Regions from separate parts of the Homo sapiens genome. Here region 1 is linked to region 2. Evidence: promoter capture Hi-C in human tissues and cell types (Jung and others, 2019). All regions are on one chromosome and are shown on one strand. Each heading gives the region's core, a stretch centred on a gene start or on the middle of the fragment in contact. The rest is flanking DNA. Distances are from core to core; before and after follow the strand shown. Region 1 overlaps ZNF778 (zinc finger protein 778). Region 2 holds the start of CBFA2T3 (CBFA2/RUNX1 partner transcriptional co-repressor 3).

What was found. The method cuts DNA at HindIII sites, captures the fragments that hold promoters and counts their contacts. A contact is called where the count stands out against the background at its distance.
Region 1: a contact is called between a fragment that was not itself captured here and the fragment with the promoter of CBFA2T3 in region 2, in 1 of the 25 tissues and cell types used here (small bowel).

What each region holds. Positions count from the first base shown.
Region 1 is chr16:89,232,736-89,236,295 of GRCh38, reverse strand. ZNF778 (zinc finger protein 778) reads right to left here. Exons shown (of 7, transcript NM_001201407.2): 7 at 1-3,560. Among named protein-coding and RNA genes, the nearest start is that of ZNF778, 17 kb to the right of the region's middle. The HindIII fragment of the contact is 6,577 bases long and covers 1-3,560 here.
Region 2 is chr16:88,975,396-88,978,764 of GRCh38, reverse strand. CBFA2T3 (CBFA2/RUNX1 partner transcriptional co-repressor 3) reads left to right here and starts at 1,558. Exons shown (of 12, transcript NM_005187.6): 1 at 1,558-2,108. The coding sequence starts at 1,958. RefSeq lists enhancers at 1,137-1,186, 3,027-3,236, 2,889-3,369. The HindIII fragment of the contact is 13,654 bases long and covers 1-3,369 here.

The DNA.
Region 1 (3,560 bases), core at 775-3,274, 260 kb before region 2:
AATTGTTCTTCTGGAAGCACTGTGTCCACTTTCTCAGCCTCCTTCCAAGACTTTCACTCTGTAGCTTTCGGCAGCTTCGTGGTGGCAGGGGCTTGGTTTTCTTTTCTTTCTTCTTTTTTGAGACAGAGTCTCGCTCTGTTGCCCAGGCTGGAGTGCAGTGGTGCAATCTCAGCTCACTGCATGCTCTGCCTCCCGGGTTCACGCCATTCTCCTGCCTCAGCCTCCCCAGTAGCTGGGACTGCAGTCGCCCGCCACCACGCCCAACTAAATTTTTGTATTTTTCTTTTTTTTTTTTTTTTTTACTAGAGACGAGGTTTCACTGTGTTGGCCAGGATGGTCATGATCTCCTGACCTTGTGATCCGCCCACCTCGGCCTCCCAAAGTGCTGGGATTACAGGTGTGAGCCACCGCCCCCGGCCTGGGCTTGGTTTTCTTTAGGTTTATCCTGTCTGGGGCTCATGGAACCTCTTCAAACTTAAGTTTTTATCTTACACCAAATATGAGAAATGTTTCATCATTATTTTTTCAAGTGGTTTTACTACATCACACTTTCTCCTTTTCTTCCAGGATACTGAGGTCATGAATGTTAGCCATTTGGTATCATAACACTGCTCCCCAAGGCTGTTGCACATATGCTGAATAATTTAAGATTATAGTCTACACTTCTGAATTTTAGGTTATGACACTCTGGGTCTGTCAGTCCCACGGGTGATGGAGATACTGGTTCATCAGGCGAGTAACCTAGTCAGGTTCAGGAGGCAAGTTCTATTGAAACCATGTGGGTCGTGCTTTCCATGTTGATTCTGTCTTAAAGCCTACGCAGAACTGCTCATGTCTCTTCTCGGGCGAGGCTCGTCCACCTACAGAGTGGTCAACCTCACAGGCCAGCTCCTAAGGCTGATGATGTGTTTGCTGCTGCAGGACTGCCTGGAGGCCAGGGCAAGCGAATGGGAAAAACTAAACTTTCGGATTTTTTCTCTCACAGTGTTAGGACACCTGTTTCCCACTCGTTGTGTGAAAACGGAAGTCAGCATGAGGCCCCGATCTGGAGCCTAGTGGGTGCTGGTGCCAAGCTTCTGGGACCCTCCAGGCCTTCAGAATTGTGAACAAAATAAACCTCTTTTCTTCATTAAAAAAAAGAGGCCTTGCAAAAATTTTTATGTCCATAGTGGGAAAAATGACATTACACTCTACAGATACGGTCAACAAAAATCAACTCCAAATGGATTAAGCAACTTGGGATAAAACATAGAAACTGTGGAAGCCAAAATAGTACAGCATATTTAAGGCCTTAGGAGAAAAGAAATTTCTGATGAAGATAAAGGAAAGGTTGTATAAATTTGAGTATGCCAAAATTAAGAAATATTTTTCCTTTTTTTTTGAGACAGAGTCTCACTCTGTTGCCAGGCTGGAGTGCAGTGGCGCGATCTCGGTTCACTGCAATCTGTGCTTCCCATCTTCAAGCAATTCTCCTGCCTCAGCCTCCCAAGGAGCTGGGATTACAGGCGTGCACCACCACATCTAGCCAATTTTTCTATTTTTAGTAGAGATGGCGTTTCACCATGTTGGCCAGGATGGTCTTGATCTCCTGACCTTGTGATCCACCCACCTCGGCCTCCCAAAGTGTTGGGATTACAGGCCTGAGCCACCACACCTGGCACAATCTTTTTCCTTAAGGCATCATCACAAAAGTGGAAACAGGTGAAGTGGAAACCACTGCAATCTTCTAAGTCACAAGTGGTGACTCACCTCACAACAGCCTCACTATTTCTAAAAAAGAACAAAGATCAAACAAACCAGGAAAAAACAAGACCAGGTACTTCATCCAAAAAGGAAAATAGCCAGCGTAAGCAAAACCATGTTCATACTATCAGTAATGAAGAGAAGTGCAAACCAACACCCCAAGGAGATGCTGTTTCACAACCACTTTGGAAAAAACGTCACTCCCTAAGAAGGTTGAACGAGTAGAGAGAAAGAATAAAACTGCCCAGGAGTCAACATGGCAGTTCCTACAGATAGTTCAAGAATCCCTGGGCTGGGTAAGACCTTGTCACAGACATGTGCTTAGGTAGAGAGACTATGAGGAAAACCACACCACTGGTGGGGCCTAGACGCGGACTCGTCAAGGTGAGTGAGTGACACACACAGGTTCCTGACATGGAAAGTTTATCACTCACAGTGTCAAGAGAAGGCGGCACATCACTCCAGGCAGGGCCCAAGGGGAGCTGCAGAGCTGGGCAGGAGGCAGAAGTCAGAGCCAGGGGAGGCAGAGGCCACAGGGTTTTCACAGGAAAGGCAGGACAGGGCAGGATGAAGTCTGGGGCTGGCTAGTCTGCATACTTCCAGCAGGCCCAAGGGCATACAGCATGTCCTGCTGTCTAGTGCCTCATCCTGGGCTGACTTCAGGGAGGAGAAATACTGGCTTGGTGTGGTAGTTAGAAAAAGGAAGTGGCCGGAAATAAGTACTTGCAACAGTTGAGTTGCATACGCAGTGCGAGCTGAGTTGCATACGCAGTGCGAGTTGAGTTGCATACGCAGTGCGAGTTGAGTTGCATATGCAGTGCGAGTTGAGTTGCATACGCAGTGAGTTGAGTTGCATATGCAGTAAGTTGATTTGCATACGCAGTGCGAGTTGAATTGCATATGCAGAGCGAGCTGAGTTGCATACAGTGTGAGTTGAGTTGCATATGCAGTATGAGTTGAGTTGCGTTGCATATGCAGTGCGAGCTGAGTTGCATATGCAGTGAGTTGATTTGCATACGCAGTGCGAGTTGAGTTGCATACACAGAGCAAGCTGAGTTGCATACGCAGTGTGAGTTGAGTTGCACACGCAGTGCGAGTTGAGTTGCACACGCAGTGCGAGTTGAGTTGCATACGCAGTGCGAGTTGAGTTGCATACGCAGTGCGAGTTGAGTTGCATACGCAGTGCGAGTTGCATACGCAGTGCGAGCTGAGTTGCATACGCAGAGCGAGCTGAGTTGCATACGCAGAGCGAGCTGAGTTGCATACGCAGTGCGAGCTGAGTTGCATACGCAGAGCGAGCTGAGTTGCATACGCAGAGCGAGCTGAGTTGCATACGCAGAGCGAGCTGAGTTGCATACGCAGTGCGAGCTGAGTTGCATACGCAGTGCGAGCTGAGTTGCATACGCAGAGCGAGCTGAGTTGCATACGCAGAGCGAGCTGACTTGCATACGCAGTGCGAGCTGAGTTGCATACGCAGTGCGAGCTGAGTTGCATACGCAGAGCGAGCTGAGTTGCATACGCAGTGCGACTTGAGTTGCATACGCAGAGCGAGCTGGGTTGCATACGCAGAGCGAGCTCAGTTGCATACGCAGAGCGAGCTGAGTTGCATAGGCAGTGAGTGGATTCGCATACGCAGTGCGAGTTGAGTTGCATACGCAGTGCGAGTTGAGTTGCATACGCAGTGCGAGTTGATTTGCATACACGGTGTGAGTTGAGTTGCATATACGGTGTGAGTTGAGTTGCATATGCAGTGAGTTGATGTGCATATGCAGTGAGTTGATTTGTATATGCAGTGCATGTTTCCAGCAAGTTGTTTA
Region 2 (3,369 bases), core at 309-2,808:
TGTGCCCCCTGAGACCCTCAGTTCCCCGACTCTGAGACTCTCACTGCACACAGCTGGGGAATAGGCACTGACACAGACCAACCCCAGCCACATGCTCACGGTGGCCCCGGCCCATGTGGCGGCTCAGAGCCTCTGCTGTCTCCACTCCCGGAAACGCTGTAGGAGCTGACGCCGTTAGGATCGTGCACCCTGCACAAATGAGGAAACCAGGAGGGTCAGGGCCCCCAGGACCCTCACTGTGAATCCCACCCTGAGCCAGAGCACAGGGAACAGCAGGGGACGTGGGGACCGAATGATGGCACCAGGGGATGGGCCCCGGGCTGGCAGGAATGTCCCCTCCAGCCTCAGTCCTGGGGGCAGAACGGCCGACCACCCAGGGCAGGGGAGGCCCCGGGTGGGCCTGGCGTCTGGGAAGTTCCCCAGCAGGAACAAACACATCCCCACTGTAAGCTGGACACACACGCTGGCATGCAGCTTGTTGTCACCAACTCGAGAAAGACACTCGACTATTGGGACAGGGAGACCCGGGACACCTGGAGACCCTGCGGGGAAGGAGTCGGCTTTTACTCCTGCACGGCTTGAATTATTAACTGCGTGCAAACGTGACCTAAAACTCAAATCAAATCAAATCAAAATAGCACAGATGCCCGTGAGCCGGCCCTGGGTCTGCGGGCTCCACACCTCTGGCCTGTCTGAGGCCGGGAAACCTCCAGCCATGGCATCAGAAAAGCCACCGAACCAGGGCTGCAGGGCCGAAGGGTCACTGTCCCCTCCCAGGAAGCTCCTGCCCTCTGACAGTTGTCAGGGAGCTTTAGAAAGTGGCTTTTTTTCCCAGCATCTGGGATGTGCCTCACTCTCTCAGCCCAACGGCCGCTAGAAAGGGGTCCTAGGACTCTCCCTAGGGTCTAAGTAGTCCCAAGAGTGCTCTGAGGTGGCTTCTGGAATTTCCCAGACTGGAGAAGCCACCTACCCCCGACCCCCGCAAACTCCAGGCTGCTCACCGGAGGCGGCCGCTGGGGCGTGGGGTGAGGGTCTTTCTGAGGCACCCCCGGAGAGTGGGGGAGCCCTGCTGTCTCCACAGAGGGCCAGGAGCCCTGTGCACGAGGCCAAGCAGAGAGAGAGGGTTTCCTTCCCAGCAGGCGGGAGGTACTTTGAGGACAGGTCAGGTGCCCAAGAACCCCGGAGCAGGGGCTGAGGAGAGGCTGGTCAGAGGCCCCGCCTTGCTCAAGGGCACAGTCAGCAGACACAGGAACACGGGCAGGGTGGCCCCTGGAGCGGGGGCAAACTAAAAGGGGTGCTGGGGAAAGCTCGGCTGACTGAGGGCTAGCGGAGAGGGAGGACACCCCCAGATACCCCAGGCTGAAGGAAGGGCCAAGCCCTGGGGGGAAGATGGGTGGGCGGGACAGGCCAAGGGCTCTGGGCCAGGATGGAGCTGCCCTCAGGCCTGCACACCTGCCCTGGGGCCGAGGAAACACATGCCCAGTGGCCACGCTGTAGGGCTCAGGGTGGGTGGGACGTCACCAGAGCTGCCTGGGAGGAGGAAGTTGTTGGAAGGTCAAACCGGAATGGCCCGAGGGAAGGCCGCGCAGGGCAGGGCCCCAGATGGTTCCTGTCAGGGAAGTGGCGGGCGCAGCTGCAGGCCTCCGGCCCCGGCATTATCACGGGGACACAGCTGGCTGCCTCACCCGCAGGCTGCAGGGAGACCTTCCCCAGCCTGCAGCCCCAGGCCCGCCCCGCGTCACATGAGCCCCAGGGCTCCCACCCCCTCCCCAGGGCAGAGGACACCCAGTTGGTGGCCGGGAGGGCCTCGGCTTTCCAGGGACAGAGGCCCAACTCCAGGACGCCCCAGCTGGCCCAGCCCCTCCTCTTTCCCTCAAGGCTGCAGGAGGTCGGGAAAGGCAGTCCTGGTAGAGGCCTGTCCTGGGCTCCAGGTTGGCCCCTGAGGGTGGCCCTCCTCATGCCGGCTTCAAGACTGAGGGACAGGGCAGCCAGTTCAGCCTCGGGATCCACCTGTGGCTCCATGTCCCAGACGCACCCTGTGCTGGAGAGCGGCCTCCTGGCATCTGCCGGCTGCTCCGCACCCCGGGGTCCCAGGAAGGGCGGCCCAGGTAAGAGGCTCGAGGGGAAGGTGGTGGGGTGGGGGCAGAGAGCGGCAGCCGGTGCCGGGGCTGTGACTCCTTAGAGCTTCGCGGGGCCTGCCCAGCTTAGTTGACAGTGCCGGCACGGATGGCCGTGTTGACTCACCTCAGATATCAACAGGGCCACCCCACAGGCAGGTCCTGCACAGCTGGGGCAGGTGGGCTGGTGAGGGTTTGGCAGGTGCCAGCCAGGTGCCCCAGCCCCACCCAGAGGCAGATGCTGGAGGCCGGGCTGCTCAGCCCCGTCTAGGAGGGTGGGCTGTGTTCTCCTGGGGGTGGGAGGGCCGCAGCCGGGAAGTGATGGGGGGGTCCTAGAAAGAGAGCCCTCCTCCTCCTGGGATGCCCTCCGGGTGTGACACCTCACAGCAGGTTGGATGAGGAAACTGAGGCCAGAGGGGAGGGCACTGGCCCAAGACCCCGGTGAGGAGGAAATGGACCCAACCCTGGGCCCCTGTCCGAGGAACGATTCCAGCCAGGGCAGTGGGGGTTTACGGGGAACCTGGGCCTGCCCTTCTGGGGGCTTCGGGCTCTGGGGAGGGGTCCAGTCCAGCAGGACGCCAGCTATTGCTGATACCCCCCACCCGAGCCTGCGAAGTCCCAGGACAAGGATCCCCGGACGCTGGGGGCTGCAGCTGCAGGCTGGTGGCCCCGATTCCCAGTGGCCCTCGTGGCCACACTCCCAGCAGCCGTCGGAACCTTCAGGAGCTCACAGTCTCCCGTCTCGCGGGGCTCTCACTGAGGCCGTCAGGTCCAAGGTCTGACTGCACCCCTGACACTCACACACAGAACCCGGGACCGAGGGGTGTCCCCATCTCTGGAGACCACATTCCCTGAGCAGGTCCTGGCGGCGGCTGCCTGAGGCTGTTCCCACCTGCAGCTGCCCGTGGGGCCCCAGGGCCATCCCCCACAAGGGCCCCAGATGTGAGCAGGAACTTCCCAACCCCGGGTGCCCGGAATGCAAAGGCCGGACCTCACCACAGCCAGTGCTACTGTTCGTTTCTCCCGAATGGGTGACTCAGAGCCACCTTCAAGGCAGCACCAGCCCACTGGCCCTGGCATCTGCCATCCCGTCCTCTCTGGAGCGGCCCTGTCTATCCCCTGGCGCTGAGTGGCCTTGGGCCGGGTGCTTCCTCCCTGGGCCTCAGTTTCCTCATGGTTCAGACCCTTCCGACCTGCTCCCCGCGTGAGAGCAGGTTCTCACCGGCGCGGAGAGAGACGGGCTCTGAGGCGC